Linked DNA regions of Homo sapiens: region 1 is linked to region 2. Evidence: promoter capture Hi-C in human tissues and cell types (Jung and others, 2019). All regions are on one chromosome and are shown on one strand. The core of a region is centred on a gene start or on the middle of the fragment in contact, and the rest is flanking DNA. Distances in the headings are between cores, read along the strand shown. Region 1 overlaps PAQR5 (progestin and adipoQ receptor family member 5). Region 2 holds the start of GLCE (glucuronic acid epimerase).

The links. The method cuts DNA at HindIII sites, captures the fragments that hold promoters and counts their contacts. A contact is called where the count stands out against the background at its distance.
Region 1: a contact is called between a fragment that was not itself captured here and the fragment with the promoter of GLCE in region 2, in 1 of the 25 tissues and cell types used here (mesenchymal stem cells).

Annotation. Positions count from the first base shown.
Region 1 is chr15:69,339,844-69,342,915 of GRCh38, reverse strand. All of the region lies in intron 2 of PAQR5 (progestin and adipoQ receptor family member 5), which reads right to left. Among named protein-coding and RNA genes, the nearest start is that of PAQR5, 42 kb to the right of the region's middle. RefSeq lists enhancers at 1-158, 159-659. The HindIII fragment of the contact is 5,737 bases long and covers 1-3,072 here.
Region 2 is chr15:69,158,869-69,161,966 of GRCh38, reverse strand. It overlaps GLCE (glucuronic acid epimerase), which reads right to left and starts at 1,332. Exons shown (of 5, transcript NM_015554.3): 1 at 1,210-1,332. It also overlaps the pseudogene LOC100421574. RefSeq lists silencers at 953-1,062, 1,263-1,472 and an enhancer at 1,170-1,670. The HindIII fragment of the contact is 12,441 bases long and covers 1-3,098 here.

The DNA of each region.
Region 1 (3,072 bases), core at 116-2,615, 180 kb before region 2:
CCTGCATGTGGTAGGAGGAGCTGGCTTCTTTAGCCAGTGCTGCAAGGTGCAGGGTCTGAGCGTGGCTGGAGAAGAACAGAGAGTGAGAGGTGAAGGGGAGGTCCTGAGTTTAGGCAGGCTCTGGGTGGCTGAGCCACACTTCTGATCCTCTCCCTCCCCTGGGGCTCCTGTCTAATCTCCTTCATGTGAACAGAAAACAGCACAGAGCCCAGGAGGTGAATGAGGCCAAGTCTTGATCCCATCACTGTGCCAGAAGGCCCCAGCAGTCCTCACCACCTCCAAGGACTGAATAGCACCCTGGGGGACGATGGAGGGAGGCAGAGCCTAGGAGCAGGGGCCCCAGCTGCTTTCAGACCACGTTTTACCTTAAAACATGTGATCAAAATTAAAAACCTGTATGCATCAAAGGACACTATCAAGAGAGTGAAAGACAGCCCACAGAATGGGAGATTTGCAAATCAGATGTCTATAAGAGACTAATATCCAGAATATATAAAGAATTCCCAGAACTTGACAAAAAAATTCCAAACAAGCCAATTCAAAAATGGGCAAATGGCTTGAATAGATATTTTTCCCCAAATATACAAACAACCAATATAAAAGAAATAATAATAATAATAATAATAATAATAATAATAATAATAATAAAAGAACAAACAACCAATAGGCACATGGAAAGATTCTCAGCACCACTAGTCATTAGGGAAGCACAGTTCAAAACCATAATGGGATACCGCTTCATAGCCATTAGGATGGCTGCTATCAAAAAACAAAACAAAAAACACAGAAGGTAAGTATTGGCAAGGGTGTGGAGAAATAGAAACTAATGCATTTCTGGTGGGACTGTAAAGTGGTGCAATAGCTATGGAAAACAGTATGACAGTTTCTCAAAAAGTTAAACAGAATTACCATATAATCCAGCAATTTCACTTCTATCTATATACCCAAAAGAAGTGAAAGGGGCTGAAACAGTTTTTTTTTTTTTTTTGAGACAGGGTCTCACTCTGTTGTCCAGGCTGGAGTGCCTCACTGCAGACTTGACCTCCTGGGATTAAGTGATCCTCCCACCTCAGCCTCCTAAGTATCTGGGACCACAGACACATGCCACCACACCATCTAATTTTTGTATTTTTTGTAGAGATGAGTCCTCCCTATATTGTCCAGGCTGGTCTCAAACTCCTGAGCTCAAGTGATCCACCCACCTTGGCCTCCCGAAGTACTGGGATTACAGGTGCGACGGCCTGAAGCAGGTATTTCTAAACCAATTTTCATAGCAGCATTACTCACAATGACCAAAAGGTGAAAGCCCAAATGCTCTTCAGCAGATGAATGGATAAACAAAATGTGGTATATCTATACTACAGGATATTACTCAGCCTTAAGAAAGAATAAAAGGCCCAATGTGATGGTTCATGCCTGTAATCTCAGCTACTCTGGAGGCTGAGGTGGGGGGACTACTTGAGCTCAGGAGAACAAGGCCACAGTGAGCTGTGATCACACCACTGCACTCCAGCCTGGGCAACAGAGCAAGACCCTATTTTTTAAAAAAAAAAAAAAAAAAAGGAATAGAATTCTAATACATGTTTTAACATGGGTGAGGCTTGAAAACATTAAGTCAAATAAGCCAGACACAAAGGGACAAATATTGTATGATTCCATTGAGATGACATGCCTGGAATAGGCAAATTTTAGAGACATTTACGTAAAGACAGTCTGGCAGGGGGGCCGGGGGCGGGTAGAGGGGATGGGGAATTAGTGTTTAAGGGATACGTAGTTTCTATTTGGGAAGATGAAGAAGTCGTGGAGATGGATGGTGGTCATAGGTGCACAGCAATGTGAATGTACTCAATACCAACGAATTACACATTTTTAAGTGCTTAGCATGATAAATTTTATGTTACGTATATTTTACCACAATAAAAAAGTATCATTAAAAAGCACGTGCTTTTTGTAGTCTGCTCCATAATTTATAGTTGTTTTAATACAAAAATTTATTTTCTCCAAATCTTCCAGAAAAAAAATACATATTATACACATCCTGTTGCTGCAAACTGCCTCCCCCACTATTGTGAGAAGCGCAGACTAGTTCAATCCACCCTTCTTCCTATTTTATATCTGAGAACCTCAGATAGGAAATGACTTGCTTGAGGTCACTCAGTGAGGGCCTGGCAAAGTCAAAAATAAGGAAGGTCTCTAACGAACAGTGGGAACATGTGCATGGGTCCTAGAGTTGGAAGGACCAGAAGCTCACCCCGCCATGCCAATGCCTGAATCCACCATGGGAAGAAAACGGCCAACTCACAGGGCAGGGAGCTGGGGGAAAGCTGAGGTCACTCATCAGCTGAATGACACGTGCCTGAACTTCAGCCTCCTTGCAGCATGGGTCAAATGCCCACCTCAGCAAGATTATAAACAACTCCCAAGTAGTTTGCCATTCATTAAAGCCATGATTATGTCTGCTCACACAGTGCTTTCCAAACTGCAGGTCACAACCTCTCAATGGATCGTGAAATCTATTTAGTGAGTCATGATTAACATTTAAAGATAGAATCGTATGGAAAAGAATAGACAGAAAATATCAGTGTATTGCAGAGTAAAGGTAAGTACTGTTTTATGATGTTTGTTACATATGTTTATAGATATTGCTTGCTATGTTATGTATGACTGTATGTGTATACTAGATTATGACAAAAGGTATTGCTTACTAAAAGCCATAAACAAAAAAGCTTGAAAAAAAGGTGTTAATGTGAGGCCGGGCACGGTGGCTCATGCCTGTAATCCCAGCACTTTGGGAGTCCAAGGCGGGCAGATCACCTGAGGTCGGAAGTTTGAGACCAGCCTGACCAACATGGAGAAACCCCATCTCTACCACAAATACAAAATTAGCCGGGCGTGGTGGCACATGCCTGTAATCCCAGCTACTCAGGAGGCTGAGGTAGAAGAATCGCTTGAACCCGGGAGGCAGAGGTTGCGGTGAGCCAAGATTGTGCCATTGCACTCCAGCCTGGGCAACAAGAGCAAAACTCCGTCCCCCAAAAAAAAGGTGTTAATGTCACAGGTCACCTGTATTGA
Region 2 (3,098 bases), core at 83-2,582:
AATCATGCAGGATGAGCAAAGCAGACCACCACCTAGGAAAGCAAGCCAAAATCAGTCTTCCCCACCCTCAACAGATTCCAGTTGCTCAGGAGCTGTATCCACGCTCAACCTGCGGACACCGGCCTCCTAAAGAACCTGCAGACCAAACGCCCACCTAAGGTGCTGCCACTCTAGCTCCCGGAGCTCCAGCGAGACCAGCGCGCCCCCACAGGGATCCCGGGGCAGAGAAAAGAAAACTGCAGAACAAACGCACTGCTTCTTCAACTAGGCAACAACACCGATCAATCCTCCAACTAAGCATTGAGTAAATCTCATCCAGAGAGAAGGAGACCTGAACAAAAACGTTTCAGGATGCTGCCCAGCCTGCGCGGTAGCACCAAAGCCCTCTCCCGCCCTCAGCGGACCCAGCGCCTGCGGAGCCGCGCCCACCCCGAGAGACTGCCCGGGGGCCAGCTAACTCGCCCCGTCGCCCCCAAAAGACTGGAGACCATGCCAAGTTACCGCCCCGCTCCGGGCAAAGCAGAAACCCCGGCCAGACGCTGGTCGCCGCTACACACCCTCAGCCCCCAACAACCCCCCAAGGCGGCCCCGGCCCCAGCGGAACGGATACATCGCTCTCTCACCCGGAGACACCGATGAACAGACCCCTCTCCCCAGAACCCGGACACACTGCTTCTTCATCCCAGCAATGCGAAACGGACGCCCACGCCCGCTCAAAGAACCCCCAAGACCCCGATGATCTGCCTCCAGAGACAAGGTTTACACCGGTGTAAACCTTGCTAAACTGCATTCTCTGCCCCAAAGAGCTCGGGACCCGGGTAAAAAGACCCCTTGTCCCGGAACCCCGCTACACCACCTCCAAGAAGCTCAAGACCCTGATAAATCTCCCTCGACGTCAAAGACCTAGGACCCCGTGTGCCGCCACCCACCCCTACCCCAAGCCGGAAGAGCCCCCAGGATCCCTAATACATTGCCCCCTCACCTCGGGAGCTCCGGCACCCGCTACACCGCCCTTGGGCGCCCGCGCCCGGATCCCACTGCACCGCCTCCTCGCCCCCCGGACTCCCAAACCCCGCCAAGCCTCGCGCCCACCAGGCAGCGCCGCGCAGCCCCCAGAGCCGCCCCCGTCAGGAGCCCGCCTGCTCCGGCTGCTCCGTGTCCCCGCTCCCCGACCGCTCCTCAGCGGAGACGCGCTCCGGGCTTTCTAACCTGAGCAGCGTCGGAGGGCGAGCAGACACGGGAGCCCTGAGGAAGAGAAGGAGACAGCAGAGAAGGGGTGGCTCAGGCCTGCGGTGCCGCAGCTCCAGCCTCTCGGCAAGGAAGCGCTTGTGTGAGGAGAGCCCTCCCGCTCCGCGCGCAGCCGGGAGACCGAGCCACCGCCGTGCCCGCAGCTCTTCCCGCGAGATCCCAGCCACGGCAAGGGGCGGGGCCACGGCGGGGGGCGGTAGCGGCAGCTCCTCGAGTGACAGTCCTGGCAGCCTGTCGGCTGCAGGACGGGCGGCAGGACTCGGAGTCTACTACGACCAATTGTAAAAAAGGAAAGGTGATTCTCCCCGCCCCTTCTCCGCCCCTCTTCTTCTCCGCTCCTCCTTAATAAACTGTGAGCAAAGGTAGTAGTGACCAGAAGTAGTAGGAGGCAGTGGACTTTCGCGGTAAGGTAGCTCGAATGACGTGACGTGCTTGGCTTGTGTGTGGTCCTGCTAGGCCGCCGTAGATACACCTGGTTTGGGGAAGAGGCTGGTCTTCACACCGGTGTAAACCGAGGTGCGGTTACCCTTGGTTACAGCGCTGCCCGAAGTGCGCTGGGGATTCCCATCTTCCAGGTTGAAGGCCCACCCACTCCGGTTACCCGCGTCTAAACCTCCATTTAATTCCTTTCCCCGATTTGGGCCTCTCCTCCCTCTCCACCTCAAACAGGGCACCATTGTTAAGATGCCCATGTTTTCCAAACCCCAACCCAGGACATCTGGTCTGACAAAGAACTCGTCTGATGACTGTATTTATTTCTACATACAGCCTTCCAGAAGAATGAAAAGCAAATCTCGAGTTACCAACATAACAAATTCCAAAATTAATGAAAAGTCGTACCTTTATAGACCCCAGTGCCCAGTAGTATTTGGCACACCCAGGGCACTGAATAATGTGAAAGGAATGAATTAAGACTGTTAAATATATGCAAATCTCGAGTTACCAACATAACAAATTCCAACATTACATGAAAAGTCGTACCTTTGTAGACCCCAGTGCCCAGTAGTATTTGGCACACCCAGGGCACTGAATAAGGTGAAAGGAATGAATTAAGACTGTTATACTTAAATATATTAAATCTGGACCTGGCCCCAGAAAATTCGGCTTTCCTAGCCTTTCCTCTATAATGTGAGCCAGTGGCTTCACCCTTAAATCCAGGCTCTTCATTATTATGCCTATCCTGTACCTTCATTCATCTTACCCTCTTCACTCCCTCACCCACAGCAAGAAGTGCCCTTTCTCCTCAAGGTTAAATCTTGCACCTGTGCCCTGGATCCCAGCCATTCCCAGATTTTATTCAGCTATTCTTTCTTTCCCCATTATTAATTTCTTCCTCTAACCTAAATCTTTCTCCCACAAACATAGTCTCGCCCATCCTTTGAACAGAACAAAGCCACCCAATCTCTTCCACCCAAACTACCTTCTCCTTTCTCCTAGGAATCACACTTCTTGGGAAACATTATATTTGCTGCTGAGCACTGTGGCTCATGCCTGTAATCCCAGCACCTTGGGATGCCAAGGTGGGAGGATTGCTTGAGGCCAGGAGTTTGAAACCAGTCTGGGAACATAATAAGGCTCCCCTATATGCAAAAAATAAAAAACTAGCCGGGTGTGGTGGCACACACCTATAGTCCCAGCTATTCGCGGTGGGGGAGGCGGGGTGCTGAGATGGGATGATCGCTTGAGTGTGGGAGGTTGAGGCTGCAGTGTACTGTGACCAAGCCACTGCACTCCAGCCTGGGCCACAGATTGAGGCCCTGTCTCTAAATAAATAAATAAAAGTATACTTGTTGTCTCCACTTTCTCATCTCTTATTTTTCCCACTACAGCGTTGCTTTTGCTCACACAAT